Regions from separate parts of the Homo sapiens genome. Here all the other regions are linked to region 1. Evidence: promoter capture Hi-C in human tissues and cell types (Jung and others, 2019). All regions are on one chromosome and are shown on one strand. Each heading gives the region's core, a stretch centred on a gene start or on the middle of the fragment in contact. The rest is flanking DNA. Distances are from core to core; before and after follow the strand shown. Region 1 holds the start of KCNA4 (potassium voltage-gated channel subfamily A member 4). Region 2 overlaps ARL14EP-DT (ARL14EP divergent transcript). Region 3 has its middle 21 kb from the start of LINC01616.

Region 1 (3,666 bases), core at 378-2,877:
CCTGCTTGGTCCATCGGGCGAGCTGGGAGAGGTGTCTAGGGAGACCCCGTCGCCACGTGGGCTTCTGGTTATTTGTGTGTGTGTGTGTGTGTGTGTGTGTGTTTGTTTGTGTGTGTGCGCACGCGCTCGCGTGTGTGGGAGTGGGGTGGAGATGGACAGCAAAACCCTTTTTTTTTTTTTTTTTTTTTTAAATGGAGGTGGGCAGTGGGAGAGATCACTAAGATAGAGTCCTCCCGGGAGCCAAACCTCTCGCCCGGTTGATTCTGGCAAGCCTGAGACAGGCAAACTGTCTACTTTCCTGTTTTGATGTGGTCCGAAGAAATAAACAAGAAACAAGGAGAGACCCTTCCTCAAACTGTAACTCCAGCCAATTAGCATGAAAAGCTCAAGAAGCTATTAACCAGAAGTTTCGGCTTTAGGGGACCAGGGACTTGCCCGAGGCCCTGGCATGCGCGGCGGCTAGGTTTAACTTTCAACTCATAGTGACCTTTTCCTTAATTTAATGCAAAAAATCTTTCCCAGAGGTGGAGATTTAAGATGCTAATGATACATACGTCCTATGAAGAAGCATGTTAAACCACCATGCATGCACCAGAAAAACTCCACCTCTACATGCCCTGTCTATAGTTCTCCTTATTTCCCCTTACGGGAGAGGCCCGTAAAAGAAACCCACACCCTGACTTCGAGGAACAGCCCACTTTTTTTTTTCTTGGTGTTAGCTCCCTTGTGCGCACAAGCTTTAATTAAAAGAAAGAAAGAAAGAAAACCAAAAAAACTTGCTTTTTGCTGCGATATCCCTTGATTTCTGTCCTGAAGGATCCAAAGAGCCCTCAGGGAGTCGATACCAGAGCCGTATTTGTTTTTGCAGCAACAGGTTGGCTGCGGGCTCTTCCCCCGCCTTCCAAAGCCCTCAGCCCCTGGCCCACCCTGCAACTTACTCATCTCTCCAACCCTCCTCCCCTAGAACTGCTGCCTCCTGTGCGCAGCCCCTAGCCTGGGCCTGATTCCAATTTCTGTAACATTCCCCTGCCCGGGATTGAATACAGGTTGAAAGTCGGTCTCCTCCGCGCCCCTGAGGCCCAACCCCGGCGCTGAAGCCTCCCAACTCCTGTGTGCAAAGGAGACGGAGACTGAGGGATCTGGGCGCTCTGGCAGGCACAGGAGGGCTCCCCGCCCGTGGCCTCGCCGGAGATGCACCCGGCTCCCAACCCAACAAACCCGCTTTGGGAGGGGATGGGGTGGGGAAAAGAAGACGGGGCTCGGGGCTCGAGGGGAGATATAGAGAAAGCAAGTTAGGTAGAGGAGATGTCCCAGAGGACCCCATTTTCGGGACTGCACCTCCCATTGGAGCTCCCCGCTCCCAAGCCCTCTGGGGACTCCCGCGCTGCCGTCGAAACCCCTATTCCGGCCCCAACGGGGACACTTCTCCAGGATTTGCTCCTCGCCTGTGGGGACCACAGCCAAAGACTCCTGGAATCGATCCCAGATCCTGGGAGTCGGGGGGCCCAGCCGGGGTGCGGGGAGTCGCGGCGTCGTGACTGCACCCGCCCCGCCGCGCCGGGAGGCGCCCCTGGCGACCGTCGCGAACGCCACACCCTCGGTTCGGCCCTGGCCCCGCCCCCGCCCAGAGCGCGTTCGCGGCCAGGGGAGGCGTGTGCTGCTCCCGCAGCCAGCGAGAGCGAGAGAGGGATGGATGTTGGAGGAGGAATTCGGGCTTAACAAGTGATCGCTGCTGTCTAGGATTTTGTTTCTTTTCGGGGGAACCTTGACTTCCTTTCCCAGGCAATCCCTCCTGTGCTGAACTCCAGAGGAACCAGGAGTCTTGGGGTCTTCTCTGGGGCAGCCCCAACCCCCACCCCCAGGCTCCAGCCGCGAGGACTCTGTGCACCCCTCGGGCCAGGCAACAGAACTTGTTCCGTGGATATTTGGAGCCTCCACCTGCCAAACCCGAGTGATTCCTTTTACCACCCCCCGCCCCCCACCCAGGATCATTCTTCCCCTCCTCCAGCTGTTGCAGCTTGAGGGGGAAAAACAAGCCAGCCGGTGGATTTTCTTTATTTTTATTTTTCGCCCCGCCGGGGAACGGTAAGTATGATACCTTTTTTTTTTTTTTTTTTTTTTTGTATCTTTCCTCTACCTTCTTATTTTGGCTGTTAAGAAACAGTGGACATTTGAGGGATAAATAATATCGGGAATGTGACAGAAGGGCATGAATGGAAGGCGGTTAAAAATAAACCAGGAGGTGGGAGAAGGGAGGTGCGGATGCTGCGCGGCGCTCCGGGGGGCCAACAGTTGTTATTTTCCCAAACCCGGGGATGCGGTGAGTGCGCCCTGCTTAACGTGCTGGAGCGGGAACCGAGGTCTGGAGGCGAGGGCGCGATTAAAGATGTCGTTTCCCAACGAGAGGGGGGTTAAGATTTAGCATCGTTTCGCCTCCTCCCAGCCGCACCGGTTCCCTTCTTTTGGGAACAGCCGGTGAACGGGTCTGAATTGCTGCCTCTTCCAACGTTTGGATTTGCGTGCATTTTCCGAGCATTTGAGCAACATACATAGGGGCTGCATAAATGGCGTGCGTTGAAGTGTATATTTCTCACGGTGGTGGCTTTTCTGATTCCCTCTCTCAGTTTCTCTCTCTTTCTCTCTCTCTCTCTCTCTAAGGTTCAGGTACCACCCTGACAGTGACACAGTTGCAGGAATTAGCACTGAGAGACGAACAGCCTTGTTGTTGGAGGGGTGAGAGGAGGAGGGGCGGGATGCTTGGCTGTTGTTTGGGGGCGCCGGGATTGGGGAATAGGTAGTCTGCAAAATCCTATTAGTTTAATGGTGTTAAAGAAGAAGACAAATTCCTCTGCAAAGATCTCTCTCATAAAGGCTCCTGGGAATTGGCTTGAATAGATTCTCCTAACAAGAGTACCTTGAGAAAGAAGAGAGATTTTAAACCAGTCTGATTTGCTGGGAGGAATGATTTTTCTTTTCTCTTCTTTTCTTTCTCTCTCCCTTTCTTTCTAGATCAGGGATAGTGAAGTAACTAGTAGATGATTAAAAGGAAGGCAATTTGCTACTTGTAGGGTGGAGGAGGGAGTTAGATAAACAAAAACTAACAATCCCAAATAAATAAATAAATGTGAAATTATTTGGTGTAGAGCAGAAAGAGGGCAGTTCTAGAACTCCCGAAGAGCTGATGGTGAATTAGAAGACTCGCTAATTCATGACCTTCTGGGAGTCAGTTGGGTGGGAAGGCAGTGTGTGTAGTATTCAACTATACAGGAACTTGGGTTACATTGGGGCTTCATTGAAATTATAATTGTTTTAGGGGAGTTGGGGAAGAAACTGAGCAAACTCTCAGGCTATTTGGTCTGTACCGGTCTTGAAAGGATGTTGGCCTGACACTCCACTGCGAATGTCACCCCAGGATGGTTTTGTAAGTAGGGATTTGGAAACTCCTTGAGGGTAAACATTTCAGAGTATGAGATGATGTTAGGAGTCAGGCAAAGGAAGGGAGATGGCATGTGAGATGCCCTCTGTGGTGTATTTTCTGGAGTTTGTGTTGCAATCAAATGCCCTTCTTGCCCTAGGAAAATATATATGATTGGGAAGGGGTGTATGATTGGGAAGACCTCTGTTTGCCACTTCCATGCTTGTCACTTCATAAAATTCAGTGTGTTT
Region 2 (3,761 bases), core at 1,007-3,506, 51 kb before region 1:
AAATCAATACAATTCCCAGAAATGAGGTCTCCCATGTTTTCCCTGGCAACCAGGGGTTATAGCGTGTGAGACCAAATATTGAATTTCATCTTTAAACTGACTGACTCAAACAATTGCTTGTTTTGTGCATAACAACATATGTCCATTGACAAGAAAAAGTGTTCTGTATCAGGGGCCAACAACCAATTTTAAGGATAAATAATGGAAGAAGAATTGGGATATAGAATAAGAACAATAATTTACTGAGATCAATGTCTCTTATGAGAATCTAAATGTTAAAGAGAAGATCCGTCTTTGAAATTGAGATTGAACAGGTGAACTGGTACTACACTATGCTAGTTCTGTCAAGTAGATAGTTGGGAGACTGAAAGATGATAGCAGAGATAGTAGAATAGGAGCTGAGGACAAGACTCTTTTATGTTCATTAATTAGGTAAACATAGGTTGAACATACACCATGTACCAGACACTGTTCTAGACACTGGGAGATAAAATGTCACTACCCTGATGGCAAGAGAAACAGACACATAAACAAAGAAGATAATACACATAAACAATGAGGATAATATGATCACAACTGGTGGTGTTTTGGTGAGATGTCTCTTTAATAGAGAGAAAAGGGAGGGTGGGATGCACTTTGCAGGCAGAGAGGATAGCTCATTTGTAAGATCTGAGGGAAAAAATATACCTGTAGTTAACAATATGGTATTGTATCCTTTAAAATGTAAGAGCATAGGTCTCATGCTAAGTGTTCTTGCCAAAAAGAAAAAAACTCCAAATGACAGAAAAAAAAAAAACAAAAAACCTCACACACAAAAGAACACAAGGAAAATTTGGAGGTAATGGATATGTTTAGTACCTGGGTTACAGTGATGGTATCGTTGGTGTGTGCATATGTCCCGTATGTCCAAACTCATCAAGATGTGGACATTAAATATGTGCAGTTTTGGGGGTATGAATTATACCTCTAAAAATGTTTAAGAAGGAAGGAAGAACAAAGATCTGAGTAAGAAAGGAACCAAGTAGAGCATTTTTGTTGTTGTTGTTGTTATTGTTGTTGTTTGACACAGTGTCTCACTCTGTCGCCAGGCTGGAGTGCAGTGGCAAAATCTTGGCTCACTGCAATCTCCGCCTCCCAGATTCAAGCAATTCCCCTGCCTCAGCCTCCCAAGTAGCTGGGACTACAGGTGCGCACCACCATGCCTGGCTGATTTTTTGTATTTTGGTAGAGACGAGGTTTCAGCATGTTGGCCAGGATGGTCTTGATCTCCTGATCTCGTGGTCTGCCCGTCTTGGCCTCCCTAAGTGCTGGGATTACAGGCATGAGCCACCATGCCTGGCCCCAAGTAGAGCTTTTGAAAGAACAAGAGAAAGTCAATAAAGCCAGGGGGCCTGGTGTACAATGAGAAGGGAAAGATGGGTCAGATAAATCTGGAAGCACAAGCAGGGACTTGAGTATGCAGGATTTTGAAATTTGCTTAAGAACATTAGGAATCTGTTGAATAATTTTAAAGCAAGTAAATGATAGATGGGATGATGCTTATAACTTTTATGAATTTTACATATTAAGGTATACTTACATGTATTGAGGTATAATTTATATACCAAAAAAATCACAAATTTTAAACATCTTATTCAATAATTTTTAGTAAATTTACAGTGTTGTGCAACAGTTCTCTCAATCCAATTGAGAAGATTTAATCATGAAAATTTCCCTTTAGCATATTTACAATTAATCTCTGTTCCCTTCTCCAGCCCCAGTCAACCACTAATTTGATTTCTTATAGATTTGACATTTCTTCAGATTTCATATAAATGGAATTGTATAATATGTAGTCCTTTACTTCTGGCTGGTTTCACTTCACATAATGTTTTTGCAGTTCAGCCATGTTATAAAATGTGTTGATATTTCATTCTCTTTTATAACTGAACAGTACAGTGTATGGATATGTCATATTTTGTTTATCCATTCACCAAGTAATTGGTGTCAAAAGACAAAATTACAACAAACTTAATTAAGATCTTAATTGGCTTTATTGTGATTTCAGAACTGGGCAACACTTCATTCCATAAAATAGAATAAGTGTTCTGATGACCTGAGCAAAAGGGGTTGTGTTAGGGCTTCATGCAGAAGCTTTGTGCAAAACAATTAACATCTTAACTTAAAACAATCTATTACAGATTCAAACTTACAACTTAATTTTGATAGTATACATCGGCTTTGCTCTCCTATAGCTCCATTGCCTCCCTACTTGTGTGCTATTATTATACATATTACTTATTAGTACATTTCAAGCACATTGACACAGTTTTATGTCTTTTAACCATATGCAAGAAGAAAAGTGTTACAAACTAAAATATATTTATACTATCTCTCATATTTGCCTATGTAATTACCCTTATTAATCTTTCTATTTCTTCGTATTAGAGTTACTCTCTAGTTTGTTTTCATTTCTCCTAAAGGACTCCCTTTAGTTTTTCTTGTAGGGTAGGTTTGGTAGGGATGAATTCTCTCAGTTTTTGTTTACCTAGCACTGTCTTAATTTCTCTTTAATTTTTGTCAGATAGGTTTGCCAGATATAAAATTATTCATAAGGAGGGTGTTCCAAGATGGTTCAAAAAGGAACAGCTTCGGTCTGCAGCTCCCAGCAGGATTGATGCAGAAGACAAGTGATTTCTGCATTTCCAACTGAGGTACCTGGTTCATCTCATTGGGACTGGTTGAACAGTAGGTGCAGCCCACAGAGGGCAAGCTGAAGCAGGGTGGGGCATCGCCTCACCCGGGAAGCACAAGGGGTTGGGGGATTTCCCTTTCCTAGCCAAGGGAAGCTGTGACAGACTACATGGAAAAATGGGACACTCTTGCTCAAATACTGTGCTGTTCCCAAAGTCTTAGCAACTGGCAGACAAGGTGATTCTCTCCCGTGCCTGGCTTGGTGGCTCCCACTCCCACAGAGTCTTACTCACTGCTGGCGCTGCAGTGTGAGATCAATCTGCAGGATGGCAGCCTGGCTGGCAGAGGGGCATCCGCCATTGCTGAGGCTTGAGTAAGTAAACAAAGTGGCTGGGAAGCTCTAACTGGGCAGAGCCCATCACAGCTCAACAAGGCCTACTTCCTCTAGACTCCACCTCTGGGGGCAGGGCATAGCTGAACAAAAGGCAGCAGACAACTTCTGCAGACTTAAACCTCACTGTCTGACAGCTCTGAAGACAGCAGTGGTTCTCCCAGCATGGCACTGAGCTCTGAGAACGGACGGACTGCCTCCTCAAGTGGGTCCCTGACCCCCGTGTAGCCTAACTGGGAGACACCTCCCAGTAGGGGCCGACAGACACCTCATATAGGCGGCTGCCTCTCTGGGACAAAGCTTCCAGAGGGAGGATTAGGCAATAATATTTGCTGTTCTGCAGCCTCTGCTGGTGATACCCAGGCAAACAGGGTTGGGAGTGGAACTCCAGCAAACTCTAATAGACCTGCAGCTGAAGGACCTGACTGTTAGAAGGAAAACTAACAAACAGAAAGGAATAACATCAACATCAACAAAACGGTCATCTACACCAAAACCCCATTTGTAGGTCACCAACATCAAAGACCAGAGGTAGATAAAACCACAAAGATGGGGAGAAACCAAAGCAGAAAAGCTGAAAATTCTAAAAATTAGAGTGCCTCTTCTCCTCCAAAGGATCACAGCTCCTTGCCAGCAATGGAGCATGACTGATGAGTTGACAGAAGTAGGCTTCAGAAGGTCAGTAATAACAAACTTC
Region 3 (3,573 bases), core at 914-3,413, 56 kb after region 1:
TGTAAGCTATACCTGTCCAGAGATTTATTGCAGCATTTACTGGAATGATGACGTACTCAGAAGCACTACTGATATAGTATGCCAAAAAAAAAAAAAAAAAAAAAAGTCTGGTAAACTGTGAAGTATAGTACTTTAGAGTTGCCCTTTACAACCATCTAAGTGTTGGTTTGTTCTTTTATTTAACATACGTTCAGCAAAAATTTCTGAGTACCTGTGATGTACCCAAGAGTGTGTTAGACATTGTGGAACATGAAATTTGACAGGACCCCTGCACTTAAAAAGCCTGTGTTTAGGATGTATTCAGATAACTGCAACATGATTGGCTGGTAAAGGCAGCTTCCTAACCTGCTTGTTTCTTAGAAGTAGTCTTGAAAGTCAATCTGAGTAGGCTACATTGCCTAGTGGCCGGTCTTGGAACTGCTTGGTTTTGCATTTCTTCAGCATGCTTCTGGCTAGATCAATACTTCTGGCTTGATCTAAGGCTCTTGTCTAGATCAAGAGTCTACCCGCTTATGCTTCCATTTTCTGGTAACTTTCATTGCTGCAATCCAGTTTATTTCATTTAAGGCAACTTTGCCATCACAATACACACATGTCCTTTTAGTGTTCTTTTCTCTCTCTGCTATTCAGATTACAAAATTCTTCTACCCTCTTCTCCCCTTTTCAGTCTAGTTGTGAGCCAATATAAAAACTGATATAGGGTGTAGTAGGGAAGGGAGAGTCAGATATTTTGAAGCAAAAATAAGTAGAAACAATCATTGCTTTTCACCACTAGAATCCTTGTAATCACCCTTAGACTTTGGGCACATTTATTTTCTGCTTCTGACTTTTGTAAGAATAAACTTTCAAGATTTAAAAATAAAAAATAAAACTCATTTAATGGGAACTTTCACTGTATTTTTTAGGAAGAAACATATGCATGATTATGAGGCAAAACCTTGTGAAGGAAGTTGCATTTGTACCCGATTCTGTGGGATCTAGTTAGATGAAGATGGAGGTGTGGGTTGCGAAAGGCATACCAGACAAAACAAAACAAAAAAACACTTAAAGGTGAAAGCTCAGAGCTCACCTTGGTTTCCATCAAATTTTGAGCAGCTTAAGGTATGATAATCTCTTTGCTTGACTGAAATCACTTGTTTGAATGACTGTCTGTAACACTCTAAACTTCTTTAAGGAGAGTCTCTTTTATGTTTTTATTTTCAATGTTTAACACAAGACCTGGCACATAGTTGGTACTCAGTAAATGTGGAAGGGTGAAGGATAAATTGCAAGATACATATTAAGGATAGGAAGTGACTTTGATTGACAAGAGAAAGGATTTGATAGAAAAGGGGTCTAATGTTAGAAAAGTAGATTGGGACAGATTAGGGAGGCTTTATATATCAAGTCATTAAATAGACTGTGAAGAGCTGCTTAATGGCTTTGGAGTGAGAGTGTGACACACATATTAGTCTTCAGAAAGGTGAATGTGGAAACAGTGTGCAGTACAGATTGGTGGAAGGAGGGATTGAACAGGAGATATGGAAATCAATAATGGGGGTAATAAAGTAGAACAGGTGTCAGAGTGGTATAAAGGTTATGAAAAAGTGTTATTTCATGGTTAAGTATGCTAAACAACTGGTTTTAATCTGCTTCTGCCTCCAGAGTACTGTCAGTTGGCCTGGACTTGAATCCTAGTCTGTCACTTAGTAACCAGATACCTTGGACAAGTTACCTAAGCTCTCTAAATTCATTTCTATGTGTTTACTGAGGACTGATATCCCCCAAAACCAAAAACAAAACATGAAGAATTTGTCATGGTGCCCAAAGAATGAGGAACATTCAACACATGATAATAATTATTAGTATTACTATGATTACTTGTGAAGGCTACAAGTAAGGGTTTCCTGCTGTAGGATGGAATGAGGCTTCTGTACATCTTTTTTGCCTTGTGTGTTCTAACTCAAAGAACTGTGCCCTGATCTCTTAAACAGATTTGATGAAAATCTTTCATCTAAGTAGCAAAAGGACAAGCTTTCAAGCAAATATTACAGAAGAAGGGATCATAAGTGGTAGAGTGTCATGGAAAAATTCTAGTCCTAAATTTGTTTCAGAAGAGCAGGGTGACCTTGGGGAAGTCACTTCATCAATCTAGATCTTCATTTTTTCAGCTATAAAGTAAAGGGGTTGGATTAAATGATCTTTTAGTTCTTTCTCAACCAGATATTAAATGATTTTTCAAGTTGCTCATTAAATTTCTAGGCTCCATCAAGCAGTTCATTATGTACCCTACTTGCTCACTTGATCTGTATATTTTTCATCCAATTTTTCAGTCTAGATTTCCATTTGGTACATTTTCATTAGCACTGAAGTTTTTTGAGCATCTCTTTAGGTGATCTGTCCCTCTCTATCTGTGTGTATGTGTGTGTGTGTTTACATGCATGCATGTGCATACAATAGGACATTTTAGATAGGTCTAGGGTTCAAACTTTGTTGATGAAGACAATTGCTTTAACAGTTTTCTGAAACATCTCTAAACTCCTGTAGCTTGGATGCCTCAGGGTAAAGTTGTGTGACATCACTCTTGCTAGAATTTATTTGTGCCGCTAATTTACATGAGAAATAAGAGTTTCCAGGGAGAAAAGAAATAGGGCTTGACTCTTTTTTTAAGTTTCAAAGATACTGAAATATGTCTGATGGATTAGGGTGGCTTGATGAATGCCAAGTTATGGGAAATAGCAAGGAGGTGCTGAAACAACTCATCTTTCTTGGAGGCATAAGGAATTCTGATGAGGGAGGCTGTGTCTCTCTTTAGGGGCTAAACTTTGAAGGAGGGGTAGTCCTGATCCCATGCCCAGGATGACTGACACACTGGAACCATCTTGATGCAACCACCCTGACACCTTGGATATGCCTTGGAATAAACATTTACATATGGTCGAATCGAAAGAACTTCTCTAAAACATGGAAATTCTTAGGCATTTAACAGTTTTGCTATGGGACTATTAAGTGAGTGTAGCTCAAAGGTAACAGCATTATTTCTTTACCATTCAGCACAGAATCGTGTTTGTCTGGGGAATTCATGGAACTCTACCAAAAGCAATGCAAAAATACCTACAGCAACTCAGTGACAATGTTAACCAAAACTAGCAAGCAGGACTGTTGGGGGCCAGCAAATGTAAATGCTAATTTCAGTAAGTGTCAAATTCAGTCTTAAGGGCTATGCCCTTTTCAGGTGCAAAACAGTGACAAACAATGGCTCTTGGACACATGAATACTCTTGGGAGATCCTTAGATATATTTGAGGGAAAAAATTTGTAGAGCAAGTTGGAATTAGTGTTCAAAGGGTAGGTGAGAATGCAGAGACCTTGCAAATTTATGTATTAATGTATGTGGGACTTCATTTGAATGCAGGCCCATATTAATATTAATGCATCCACCAAGCATAAAGAAAGGTTAATCTATTTTGAGGGTCAGTTATATTTATTATAGTAAAATAGTAGCAGGATATTCTGGTTAACATAGTCTCATGAACTTAGTTAACGTGAGGCTACCCCTGAGAGAGAAAGAGATCCTCTCTGTGTACACTGATAG

The links. The method cuts DNA at HindIII sites, captures the fragments that hold promoters and counts their contacts. A contact is called where the count stands out against the background at its distance.
Region 2: a fragment that was not itself captured here is called in contact with the fragment with the promoter of KCNA4 in region 1 in 4 of the 25 tissues and cell types used here (hippocampus, mesenchymal stem cells, pancreas and 1 more).
Region 3: a contact is called between a fragment that was not itself captured here and the fragment with the promoter of KCNA4 in region 1, in 2 of the 25 tissues and cell types used here (dorsolateral prefrontal cortex and hippocampus).

The regions. Positions count from the first base shown.
Region 1 is chr11:30,014,991-30,018,656 of GRCh38, reverse strand. It overlaps KCNA4 (potassium voltage-gated channel subfamily A member 4), which reads left to right and starts at 1,627. Exons shown (of 2, transcript NM_002233.4): 1 at 1,627-2,085. The HindIII fragment of the contact is 10,149 bases long and covers 1-3,666 here.
Region 2 is chr11:30,066,600-30,070,360 of GRCh38, reverse strand. All of the region lies in intron 1 of ARL14EP-DT (ARL14EP divergent transcript), which reads left to right. Among named protein-coding and RNA genes, the nearest start is that of KCNA4, 51 kb to the right of the region's middle. The HindIII fragment of the contact is 3,874 bases long and covers 320-3,761 here.
Region 3 is chr11:29,959,286-29,962,858 of GRCh38, reverse strand. No RefSeq gene overlaps it. Among named protein-coding and RNA genes, the nearest start is that of LINC01616, 21 kb to the left of the region's middle. The HindIII fragment of the contact is 4,926 bases long and covers 1-3,573 here.